Regions from separate parts of the Homo sapiens genome. Here regions 2 and 3 are each linked to region 1. Evidence: promoter capture Hi-C in 16 types of primary human blood cells and fetal thymus (Javierre and others, 2016). All regions are on one chromosome and are shown on one strand. The core of a region is centred on a gene start or on the middle of the fragment in contact, and the rest is flanking DNA. Distances in the headings are between cores, read along the strand shown. Region 1 holds the start of SS18 (SS18 subunit of BAF chromatin remodeling complex). Region 2 holds the start of ESCO1 (establishment of sister chromatid cohesion N-acetyltransferase 1). Region 3 overlaps ROCK1 (Rho associated coiled-coil containing protein kinase 1).

Region 1 (4,142 bases), core at 1,249-3,748:
ATAATGTTTTAATATTCCAATTATTCTCCCTCTGAATAAACAAGCCCAGAAGGGAAAATCTGAATTCTTTTATATCAAACATTTAATTACCTCTGCTATCTGTAATAGAAGCTTTAGCCAATTAAGACTAAAAGTTAAGAGTCCGAGTTGGTTTTTCATCATTCTAATGCTTTGGAACAGTAAAGAAAAATTCTGTCCTTCTCCAGAATGAAATAAATACATGAAAACTTCAGCCCAGGAGTCTTGATGAGGTAGCTGGTTAGTTTCCAAGTTTTATAACAGCATGGTTTTGTGACTCTCCAATTATGAGATAATAATTAAACATAATAATTTCTATGCATGTATATTTGTTACAGACTTTATGAGTTTACTTCATAATTATGCTGTCTCAAAAGTTTAAGAGGAAAAACATACCGATTTATCATTCTATCATCTTTTAACATTCCAAGCAATCTTGGCTTTGAGGGTTAAATAATTCATCTAAGTAAAGTGGAGCTGAAGAAAGAGTACTGATTGTAGCAATTAAAAGGCCAGTTAGTTTCAGTGCCAGTTTTGCCATTTTGAGCAAGTCACTTAAGTTTTCAGGGGCTGATTCAGCTGTAAGATCAAGGGACTCAGGATATGCTCCTCCAGAACCTGCCCCACCCTACCAGTATTCAAAAGTATTAGCACAATACCATAATCACGCAATCTAAATAAAAGGAACATCCATTTAACATTAACTGTCACTTTTTTATGCACGTGAATCATAATCTTCACTTACTGGGGGAAAAAAAAAACCACTAACATGATCTGCTAATAAATGCAGTTATTTCTTAAATAGAACCATTGGATGACCAAAAAAAGTCCTTAAAAAGCACGAATCCAGTCCTCAACCTAATGATTTCACAACTTATTATCTCCAGTATATTCCTCAAACTATTGAACTTCACCATTAAAATATCTGTCTCACATCTAATATCAATCTCTCCCATTGTAGAATAAGGCAATTAATTTAGAGCCCATTTTTCTGTTCAGCTGAGAATGGAAAATAATTGATCAGCATCCTCCGAATTAATCATTATCCATGATAAATATCTTCAGACTTATGTAACAGAAACTATAAAAAAAAAAGAAAAACTCTGGACTTTTCCTGTGTACAAAAATAAAAAAGGTGAGCCCTCCAGAAACGCAGTTTTGCGTGAGTGCGTACTTGGAGCTGTTTGCCAGGCTGCAGACTTAACTCAGAGCACTATATGAAAGCACTGCATTTCCAGGCACTGCCAAGCCCGTTTGTTCATAAAATAAAGCAACAGTTGGGCAAATGTCAAAAGCCACACTACGAAGAACCTGACAGTAAACAGAAACCGATTAGCATAATCTACGTGGTCTGAGTGGTACTAAAACTTGACCTTTTTTTCTATTTTGATCTTTGCTACACAGCATAAAACAAAACAAAAATATTTAAAGTAAACTGCTAAATACAGCAGCAACTTCTGAAAGTCTAGGTCAGTAAAATTTAGAATGCTGCCTTGCTTGCAGGCAACAAGGGGTAGAGGACAATAAAGAACCTTTGTGTTCCGACTGGCAGTAACACAGCAGCGACTGCAGCAGCTCTATCCTTTAAAAAGGAGGCAGCTCCCTGTGTATTTATCACGACTTACATTAACTGGTCACGACAGTCTCCACCATTAGACTGTAAGCTCCAGGAAGGCAAGGACCATGACTCACCACAGTAGCCTCAGCGCCTAAAATAGGCGCTCAATAAATATTTGCTGCAGAATAAATGAATAGGCGGCGATGCAGAAGGGAAGAAGAGGCTCTGGGGACAACCCCAGAGTCCATGGGGACCTTCCTTGCCCGCTCCTCAAACTCTATACTAAGGTTCCCTCCAGCGTTCCCCAAGTCCTCCTGCGAGCTCCCAAACTCGGCTGAGTTTGCAGGGCGGCGACCAGCGCACCGACTTCCCCTCTGCCTGCCGCGACCCGCGGTGGGGTCCGCACGAAGCAGCCGCGGCACGCGGGGCGGGGCGACGCCAAAGTAACTCCGGAGCAACGCGCGGGGCCGCCGGTCCGACACACGCCCTTCCCTGAGCGGCCGCCGCCGGGCGCACGCGCCCCGCAGCCCGAACGCCGCCCCATCCCTAGAGAAATCAGGCGGCGGCTGTTTGGGCTTTTGTGTCTGTAGAAAAACGCGTAAATGCGTGAAAGACTCCGAGAAAAACCGGTTCACCCTCTTCCGCCACCCACTCAGGCACAGCCAGCAGTCCGTGTTCCCAAACACTGCTGATTCCCAGCAGGCCCGCCTCCGCCTCGGCCCGGTCGACTCCGGGCCCGGCCCTTCCCCCCGCGTCTGTCTCTCCCAGAGGCGGTAAGGGCCTGGCATCCGCAACCCCGCGCGGTTTCACCTTCTGAATCGCAGCGGGAGTGATCTCCCCCTTGCCTCGCTGCCTCGGGGCCGCGAAAGCCACAGACATGTTGCCGCCGTCACCACTATCGGCAAGTCCCGAGCGCTCCGGGTGAACGGCAAACTGGGGGAGAGACGCCGGCCTCTCGGGCTGAACCACCTCGGGAATGCGGGGAGGGGGGATGCTCCGGGGCCAAGCGGACGGGCGGCGGGGCAGGCCTGAAGGAGGCACTCTGGCCAGGGATGTCTCGCTTCTGCGCACTCTGGGGGACCCCTAGCCCTGGCCGAACTTTCTTGACCGTCCCTGCATCCCCCGAGCTCTCCTTATGGGCACCCCCTGGCCCTTTGCGCTAATGGTAGAGTCGCGCCCTAGTCCTCCCTCCGCTTCAGCGATTCAGGAAATGGTCCCGCCGCCGCGGGAGAAGGAGAGGCTGGGGCAGCCCCTGTCACAGGAAATGCGAGCGGCCCAAGCCGGCCCGCCCCCTTCGCGCCGTGGCAACTTGCCTCCCTCTCCGGCCCTCTGAAGCGTCTCCCCGACTGTGTTGCAGAGCGTGCCCTAGACCTAGTTCAGTTTTTCCAACTTCATCCTTACTTACGCCTCCTGGCAAGAGTGGCCGCCCCGAGTTGTCCCGGCAGCCCGGAGAGGGGAGGGAGGTCAAGACTCGGGAGTTCGTGCAAATCCGTGGAGCATCTGCCGAGATAGGGCAGAGGTGGAAGGACAAGGTGAACGCGGATTCGCTGGTTTAAATGGCTCGGCTACGCCCCAAATGCGCACCTCCGAGTCCACAGTCTCGCACGCACGCACAAAGTCGTGCCTAACAATTGGAAAGTAACCCTGACCCGAAACCGGGACACCAAGGTTGTGTCCAGTGCTCAGGGGCAATCGGCCAGCTTGGCTGGAGCGGACAGAGAAGAGCTCGCCTCTTGGGACAAACCCTTAGCAGGAAAGTGGGTCGATTTCGTCTGACTTGGCTTTTTGGAATTAAGTTGTGAAACAGGGCATCCTCACTCTCTGTTTTTTAAGAGAGTACTTACTTAGTGCCTTGTAAATTAGGCCCAAGCTGCCAGGCTTCAAGTCAGTGTAAGGGAAAAAGGCAAAGTTTTCAAATTATGGAAGGAACACGGACAAATGTGGGTTTTGTGTTGCCGTGGGGTTTTAAAGTATTCTGTAAATTTAGACTTCCATATAACACAAAGGGAAAGTTTATATAAAGTGTTACCCAACGTTAATGAATAATAAAAAATATTTCCATTTTTATATAAATTGGAAAAATAAAGAAAAAATACATTATTTTAAAAATTTAATCACTTGAGGCCAGGAGTTTGAGACCAGCCTGGGCAACAAAGTGAGACCTCTGTCTCTACAAGAATTTTAAAAATTGGCTGGGTATGGTGGTGTGCACCTGTAGTTCCAGCTACTAAGGAGGCTGAGGTGGAAGAATCACTTGAGCCAAGGGGGTGGAGACTGCAGTAAGCCATGACTGCCCCACCACACTCCACCCTGGGTGACACAGCAAGACCCTGTCTCAAAAAAAAAAAAAGAAAAATTAAGTATCAAATAAATGCTCTTCACAAAAATGTCAAGAATGTCATTGATTAAATGCATTGTTTGTTAGGCTTTATACTGGAAACCTAGGGTACGATTGTGAATAAGCTGGACATGGAACCTCCTCTCAAGGAGCTTATACACTAATGGGACTAACAGACCAGAAACAAACAAATATGTATATATGCAAAGTCCCAAGAAAAACTAGCCA
Region 2 (3,858 bases), core at 581-3,080, 4.5 Mb before region 1:
TACTCTGCATTCTGCCTAAAAGGGAAAAAGTGGCTCTATTACAGTCCTAGTTTCCTCATTTCCTCACATGCTCTAGGCCTGAATTTGCGACTTCCAAATTAAGCACGTTTTAAAGCACTTCTCATCCTACTCCCATGTCTAATTCCATTGATTAGATTTTTTGCTTTTCAAAAAAAAAAAAAAATTCACCAGGCACAGTGGCTCAGGCCTGTAATCCCAGCACTTTTGGAGGCCCAGGTGATCACTTGATCCCAGGAGTTCGAGACCAGCCTGGGCAACATGGCGAAACGCCGTCTCAACAACAAATAGAAAACTTAGCCTAACATGGTAGCGGACGCCTGTAGTCTCAGCCACTCAGGGAGGCGGAGGTGGGAGGATTGCTTGGGGCCGGGGAGGGAGGTCAAGGCTGCAGTGAACAGTGATTACACCACTGCAATCCAGTCTGGGCGACAGAGCGAGACCCCGTCTCAAAATAAAATAATAACTTAAAACTTTATTCGTGTTGGTGTCCTGTGTAAAGCAGAAACTAAGTACTTGACCAGAAGACAAAGTGAATATAGCATAGTTCACTGCAACCTGGATGTTTTCAACTGAAATCTATGTTTTATCCACTTTTTTAAAAAAGCCAATGCTGGTGGGGGGACTAACCACACCTTATGCCACCAAGTAGCGCTTTTGTTTCCTGCGAAGCTTATTTATTGAGATATCGTTTTGTAATACTATCTAGATACTGTGTGCTGCGATTCCTGTTTAAAGGAATCTCATTGCAGCTAAGACTACAGAAAACATGGTTCATAGTACTTCTCAAATCGCAAAGCTTGAGCTCCTTCCTCCTCCTCTTCCTCCCTCCCCTGGTCCCCGCTGCGTCCCCATCGCCCCGGAAAATAAAGCACACGCCGGATTTTCGGACGCATCATTGAGAGGCGGAGGGAGAGGAGGTAGTCTTCGAATTGTTGGACTTGCTATCCCATTCTGCCTGTGCAAAATAAACCCCCATAGTAAAATAATCTTAACCCGTGATAAAAATCGAGGACCCAATTCTCTTTGGTTCGCCTCTCTCCATCGCTATAAACTTCACTGCGGCCCTCAATGCACTCATTTCTACTCCAGAGCCGCCCTACCTGTGCCGAGACCCCCATTTGCAGCATGAGTTACTCTATGACCTTGGGCCCGCTCCCCTCCCAAACTGAAGGCTGTAAAACCAAGACCCCACATCGCGCCCCGCAAACTGCAGAGGCCTCCAGGCTCAGGCCGGGTCAGCGGGTTGCGCCAGGAGGCGGCGAGGGACTGGCTCCGGTGAAGCGCCGGGAAGAGAAAACGCAGGGGGCGGAGACGGGGCCCGGAGCTACCTGCGGGACCAGCACTGGCGCTGCCCCGGTGCTAGCAATGGCTGCGCGCCACCTCGGGGCTCCCGGAGCCCTCGCGGCAGTGCTGGGAACTCCGGCCCTGCCCCGTCGGCGGTCACGACCCCTTATGAACTTCGACCGCCCAGCAAACAGCGGCAGGTGGTGCGCGGACACGCGAGCACGTTAGCTGCCTACCTCAAGCGACGGCGTCTTGGAGCCTAGAGCCTCCCACCTCCCTCCCAGGGGCGCGAAGAGCTGGGACCGGAGCAGTAGGAAGGGGCGTGCGAGGCAACACGCCACCGAGGGTGGAACAGGAAGAGGGAGAACTGTCCGCTCCCTGAAGGGGCTGGCAAAAGAGAGGTGAAGACACAGGCGGCGGGGACCGTCAGGGACGCTCGCGTACCTTCCTTTTGCCTGGCGGAGGGTCAGACTAGCGCCAGCGGATCGCCTCACATCCGGGTATCAGGAGACACTCAGCTGCTTCTGCTGCGGCCGCCGCCTCCCCCGCGGCGCAAACACCAAACTTCCGGCGACGACGGCGACGCCTCGCTCGTCAGATGGGAGTTACCTGTGACCGTCTTGGGTGCGCTTGCGCAACGCTCCTCTTCAGCCCTAACCGGCTCAGCTGACGTGCCCAGAAGACGAAGATGGCCGCCACGCTCACTGCGTGTCACGCAGTTTTTCACCCCGGCCCGGACGGCTGGGCGTCGAGGAAAGGCGAGCTAGTGTCCATCCTCAGCGCAGGCGCGGTGGGAGGCCTAGCGCGCGCGCCTCCGCGGGTGGTCGCCTGGCAGGGAAGTGGCGGCGCCCCCTAGCGGCGGCCGCTTGTCGTTCCTGGGGTCATCGCTTTGAGCTGAAAACCACCCAGGCCCCCAGCGGTTGTGGTTTACCTTGGAAATTTGTCGCAACTGGTTGCCATGTAGGTTTTGGCTGCTTCTGTCTGCGATGTATAATCCAAGTGCCTTTGGTCTTCCATATGAGCCAATGTAAAGAAGGAGGGTGGGGCCGGGCGCGGTGGTTCACGCCTGTAATCCCAGCACTTTGGGAAGCAGAGGCGGGTGGATCATTTGAGGTTAGGAGTTCGAGACCAGCCTGGCCAACATGGCCAACATGGTGAAACCCCGTCTCTACTAGAAATACAAAAATTAGCCGGGTGGTAGTGGCGTGCGACTGTAATCCCAGCTACTCGAGAGGCTGAGGCGGGAGAATCCCTTGAGCCTGGGAGGCGGAGGTTGTGGTGAGCTGAGACTGGGCCACTGCACTCTAGTCTGGACGAGTGAGACCCTGTCTCAAATAAAAAAAAAAGGAGGGTGCAGTCCCTACACTGCCCTCCAGCACCTCCAAAAAATGCAGGGCTTCGCCCTCTCCTTGCACACTTTCTTCCTGTGTATCAGAGTGCAAGAATCATCAGAAATTGTAAAATATTCTGCTAGACTTAGTCAGACTGAGTGTTCAGACAAAGCTTTGGCTCGCTCTTGGACGCCTCTAGAGATAGAATCCAAGATTCTATCACTAGGATTCATGGTTCCCACACTTCTTTCTTTTGTGACAGGAAGGATCTTGCTGTGTAGCCCTGGCTGGTGTGCAGTGGCACAGTAACGGCTCACTGCAGCCTCGACTTGGGCTCAAGCGATCCCACCTGCCTCAGCCTCCCTGAGAACTGCATGTATGAAGCCCACGACACCATGCCAGGCTAATTTTTTTTTTTTTTTTTGAGATGGAGTCTCACTCTTGTCACCCAGGCTAGAGTGCAATGGCACGATCTCGGCTCACTGCAACCTCCGCCTCCCAGGTTCAAGGAATTCTCCTGCCTCAGCCTCCTGAGTAGCTGGGACTACAGGTGCCTGCCACCATGCCCGGCTAATTTTTTATTTTTAGTAGAGACGGGGTTTCACCATCTTGGCCAGGCTGGTCTCGAACTTCTGACCTTGTGATCCCACCTGCCTCGGCCTCCCAAAGTGCTGGGATTACAGGCGTAAGCCACCGCGCCCGGCCGCCAGGCTAATTTTTTTATATTTTGTAGGGATAAGGTCTCACTGAGACCAGCCCAGGCTGATCTCGAACTCCTGGCCTCAAGTGATCCTCTCTTCTCTCCTTGGCTTCCCAAAGCGCTGGGACTACAGGCCTAAGCCACTGCTCCGGCTACTAGACTGCTTTTGAACATATGTTCTGTGCTACCCTTTGCTTATTTGCGGAACTGTGAGGCTAGTTCGGTACTTCTGCATTTCAGAATGGGAAGAGGTGATCATAAATGGGTTTTCCCCTTCCTGCCCTCCTTCTTTGAAGCCAAGTACAACCAAAATGTGCTCTAAGTTTGTCAAACCTGATGTTTTTCTGACAATTCATCTTCCACGAATAGTGAGCTGCCTGTCAGTTTGCGCAGGGAGATGTTATGGCTTAAAAACAAAAACGAGGCTGGGCGCAGTGGCTCACGTTTGTAATCCCAGCTGTTTGGGAGGTATTGATGGGTGAGGCCATTCTTCACATTACCATAGTTGTGTTACTTGGCAAA
Region 3 (3,978 bases), core at 764-3,263, 5.0 Mb before region 1:
ATGACAAAACAGATAAGTTTATGGGAGGAAGCTTGTTTTGGAATATGAGGGATTTGAGACTAACATGACATCCAAGTAGAAATGCTTACAAGGCAGTCAGATATTTAAGGTTTGAAACAAAAGACTAAAAATAAAGATTTGGGTATCATGTACATAGAGATAATAATAATTGAAGCTGTAAGAATGGATGAATTCTTCAAGAGAGTGAAGACAAAGATAAGTATGATAGGCCAAAGATTGAGGAAAAGAAAAAAAGAAGAATGAAAAGATGGGAAAGCACTAGGTCAAGAGAGCCCAGGAAGATAATTTAAAGGAAGAAAAACTCAAAGACTAACACCAGAAATTTCATTTACATTTATCTTCCACATTCTGAAAAACTCCCTAATAAGAAATAGTAGTGACAAACAGCACAGTGTTAGAACTCAACAGGCACTATTTGACTAATACTGGTTCCCTTCTGTCTCCTCCGCTCACCCGTTGCTACACCTCCACCAGCCAGAAGAGAAGTGGAAAGGTCATGTTCTTAACAGGCATCATGAAGCGATGTGCCAATAAATATGCTACAAGCAAGATATTTTCATGAAAAGTATGTCAAACTTCAAAACAAATGTATCTATAACCCTCCCAACCATTTTTGTTTTTCCTTTTTTTTGAGACAAGTTCTCACTGTGTCGTCCAGGCTGGAGTGCAGTGGCACAATCTCGGCTCACTGCAACCTCCCCGTCCTAGGCTCAAGCAATTCTCTGGCCTCAGCCCTCCAGGAGCGAGCCACTGCACCCGGCCTTGTTTTTCCTATTTAATTTACAAATCATAAGCATTTTTTCCTCTGCAAAGATTAAATAGACTTAACTAAACTCCATCCCTTATTCTGTTTTCAAAGGTACTCAAAATCACTGAGAAATTATTACAGGCCCTAGACAAAATAATTAGAAGATAAGGAAGTCCGGAAAAGAGAAATAGCTCCCGATAATCCTTATAAACTGTAACATGGACAGTAAGAAAGACAACCATTAGGACACTGGAAAGAATCTGACCTACAGAAAACCAAAGTTGACTAATTTGAATGCTCTAGGAAACAAGTGAATGGTTATCATAATGTATCTTAGTATTTGCAGACTATTTTAGCATTTATACATGATATGAAGATTGAACTTACTTAGTTCTTGAAAAAAATTACAGGTGTTCGAGAAAAGATTGGATAGCCACTTATCAGAGTTCTTCCAGCTACATTATTCTAAACTACTGCAGGTTGAGTATCCCTTGTTTAAAATGCTTGGAACTAGAAGTGTTTCAGACTGCAGACTTTTTCAGATTTTAAAATATTTGCATATACATAAGATACCCTGGGGATGGGGACCAAGTCTAAATAAGAAATTCATTTACGTCTCATACATACCTTATACACAACAACCTGAAGGTTATTTTTTGCAATATTTTAATAATTTTGTGCATGAAACAAAGTTCTGACTGCATTTTGACTGCAACCCATCTCACAAGGTCAGGTGGATTTTCCACTTATGGCGTCATGTCAGCACTCAAAAAGTTTCAGATTTTGAGCACTTCAAATTTCAGATTACGGATGCTATTCATCATTAGTGTCTCAACAAAAAAGCTGTTTAGTAGGTAAGGTAGTTTAAAAGGACATACACCAGCAAATTTCTGAAACCAAAAGATTTGGAAGTTTCCATTTCTAAGCATGAATCTAGTAAAGGAGGTAGAGAAGAAACAATTTGAAAACCTTATTTTTGGGATTACAAAAACAACTCTAGAACTAAAGGACTGCACGTGGCACATAATACACACTAATAAGTAAGTATCAGTTACACAAATCAACAAAAGTCAAAATAACAGAAAAAGGCAACCAATGTAAAAGGAGTTTTGTTCCTATAATACATGAGAGGTCCAAAGTCCAGATAGGGAAGAACAAGAACAGACTCACTGAAAAAGCTGAAGTCACCTGATAGGTCACCCTGAATGACACAATGAATGAATGAACGAACGAATGCTCAATGTTAAACATAAAACATCATGCGAAGAAAATTCATGCTAGATACTACAAACCCAGAAAAAGGATTTTTTGTCTCTAAAGGAAATTCAGTCTTGGGCCAGGCACGGTGGCTCACGCCTGTAATCCCAGTACTTCGGGAGGCCAAGGCAGGCGGATTCCTTGGGGTAAGGAGTACAAGACCAGCCTGGCCAACATGGTGAAACCCCATCTCTACTAAAACTACAAAAATTAGCCAGGCGTGGTAGTGCACGCGTGTAATCCCAACTACTCGTGGGGGCTGAGGCAGGAGAATCACTCGAACCCAGGAGTCGGAGGTTGCAGTGAGCCAAGATCGCGCCACTGCACTCCAGCCTGGGCAACAGAGTGAGATTCCATCTCAGAAAAAAAAAAAGGAAAATTCAGTCTTTACCAAGTTCAGATTGACGGGGTAATAAAATTTCAGTAACAGCTATCAATAAACAGCTGTGGAACTAAACAGAAAAAGAGGACAAGATTATAAGATTTGAAGGGGAAAAAACAACCAAATCTGTCTGTTGACTATTCTCTTTAACAAAATGTTGTTTTAGAAGTGTTGGGCTCCATGATACCTGGCTGTCCTAACTCTGGAGGCCTTGATGGCTTACCTCCTCCACTCTTCCTCTTTGTTCAACCTTCATCTTTCACCCTCATTTTTCCCTCCATTGTTTCTCCCTTTACCATTATATCAACTTGCACCTTTGTGCAAATGACTTCTAAATCATTATCTGTAATTATGAGCTCAGTTCTGTATCTCCAACAGTCTACAGGTCATTTTCTCATGATTGCTCCACTATCCCCTCAAACACAACGAATCTAAAATTGAATTTATCTGTAGGCCTATTCTTCACAAGCAATTTCCAAACCTGACTTTGCTATTTTTACCATTCTCCCTATAATCCAGGCTCAACCTCTTTAGAGTCATCTGACTATTGCCTCTCTCTTTGGTTCCCCATCTTTTCCCTGCCAATAAAGTTCCATTAATTCTTCTTTTCTCATTCTCATGCCCCAATTTTGGGCTTCAATCATTTCTGGACTATTACAATAATAACAATTTTAAAAAACTGTCCAATCTCACTGTCTCTCCAATCTTTTCCCATGCTAACCCATCTTCCACACACCAGATTCATCTTCTTCATTCATCCTAGCACGGTCTTATTTATAAATATTTAATAGCCACAACAGTGTAAAGGCAATCCAAAATCCTTAGCCTACCAATCAAATCCTCCACAATCTAACGCTAATATTTCCTTCCAACCTTATCTTCCTTGTTTCCCCAAACATGTCATAGCCAGTCATGTCTCCACCCTCTATTCACGTTATCCTCCACTCCTCTTGAGTACCCTCTACCTAAATCCTATCCATCCATTATAAAACATACTTTGGCTCTCTCAACTCACAGTGACTTCTTTCTCTCAATTTCCAAGAACATACATTATCTAAACAATCATCTGGAATTTATCACATTTTCTCAATCTGTGAAGTGTTTAGCTTTGTTTCTGTGTATATATGTGAGACAAGGTTTTGTCTTCCATTAAATAGATTGGACTCTCAGGGAAAGAGTCATGACTTATATTTCCTTGTATCCTCCACATGTAAATAAAGGTCCCCACCAAATGAAGCTATAGCAAGAGGCCAGAAGATGATTTAAAGAAAAAGAAAGCTACTAAACCCTCCCTATAACACCACTCATGTAATAAGGAGATCGAAAAGCAAAATAAAATCAAAAATATATGAAAACTGGATAAATATTAAAAGATAAATCAGACTTCTTAGAAGTTATAGAAATCCTTACTACAAGATATATTCTAATTCCTTCCACTTATCTCGTTTAATAAAATGTTTTAAAATCTATTACGCATCAACCTTCTTTACTATCTCTCAATATAAAGAGCATCCATAATGTGGTGAGACATTTCAAACAACCCACAATAGTCTTATTTCCTGGTCAGGGA

Evidence for each region. Contacts are between HindIII fragments. The CHiCAGO score rates a contact against its expected background, and 5 or more counts as called.
Region 2: a contact is called between the fragment with the promoter of ESCO1 here and the fragment with the promoter of SS18 in region 1, in 1 of 17 cell types (non-activated CD4 T cells). The highest score is 6.8, in non-activated CD4 T cells.
Region 3: a contact is called between a fragment that was not itself captured here and the fragment with the promoter of SS18 in region 1, in 1 of 17 cell types (non-activated CD4 T cells). The highest score is 7.0, in non-activated CD4 T cells.

What each region holds. Positions count from the first base shown.
Region 1 is chr18:26,088,115-26,092,256 of GRCh38, forward strand. SS18 (SS18 subunit of BAF chromatin remodeling complex) reads right to left here and starts at 2,499. Exons shown (of 11, transcript NM_001007559.3): 1 at 2,387-2,499. The coding sequence starts at 2,455. RefSeq lists an enhancer at 2,834-2,953. The HindIII fragment of the contact is 4,894 bases long and covers 110-4,142 here.
Region 2 is chr18:21,598,874-21,602,731 of GRCh38, forward strand. ESCO1 (establishment of sister chromatid cohesion N-acetyltransferase 1) reads right to left here and starts at 1,831. Exons shown (of 12, transcript NM_052911.3): 1 at 1,750-1,831. RefSeq lists enhancers at 175-469, 1,537-2,056, 3,381-3,460. The HindIII fragment of the contact is 1,991 bases long and covers 816-2,806 here.
Region 3 is chr18:21,105,669-21,109,646 of GRCh38, forward strand. All of the region lies in intron 1 of ROCK1 (Rho associated coiled-coil containing protein kinase 1), which reads right to left. Among named protein-coding and RNA genes, the nearest start is that of ROCK1, 4.2 kb to the right of the region's middle. The HindIII fragment of the contact is 3,968 bases long and covers 30-3,978 here.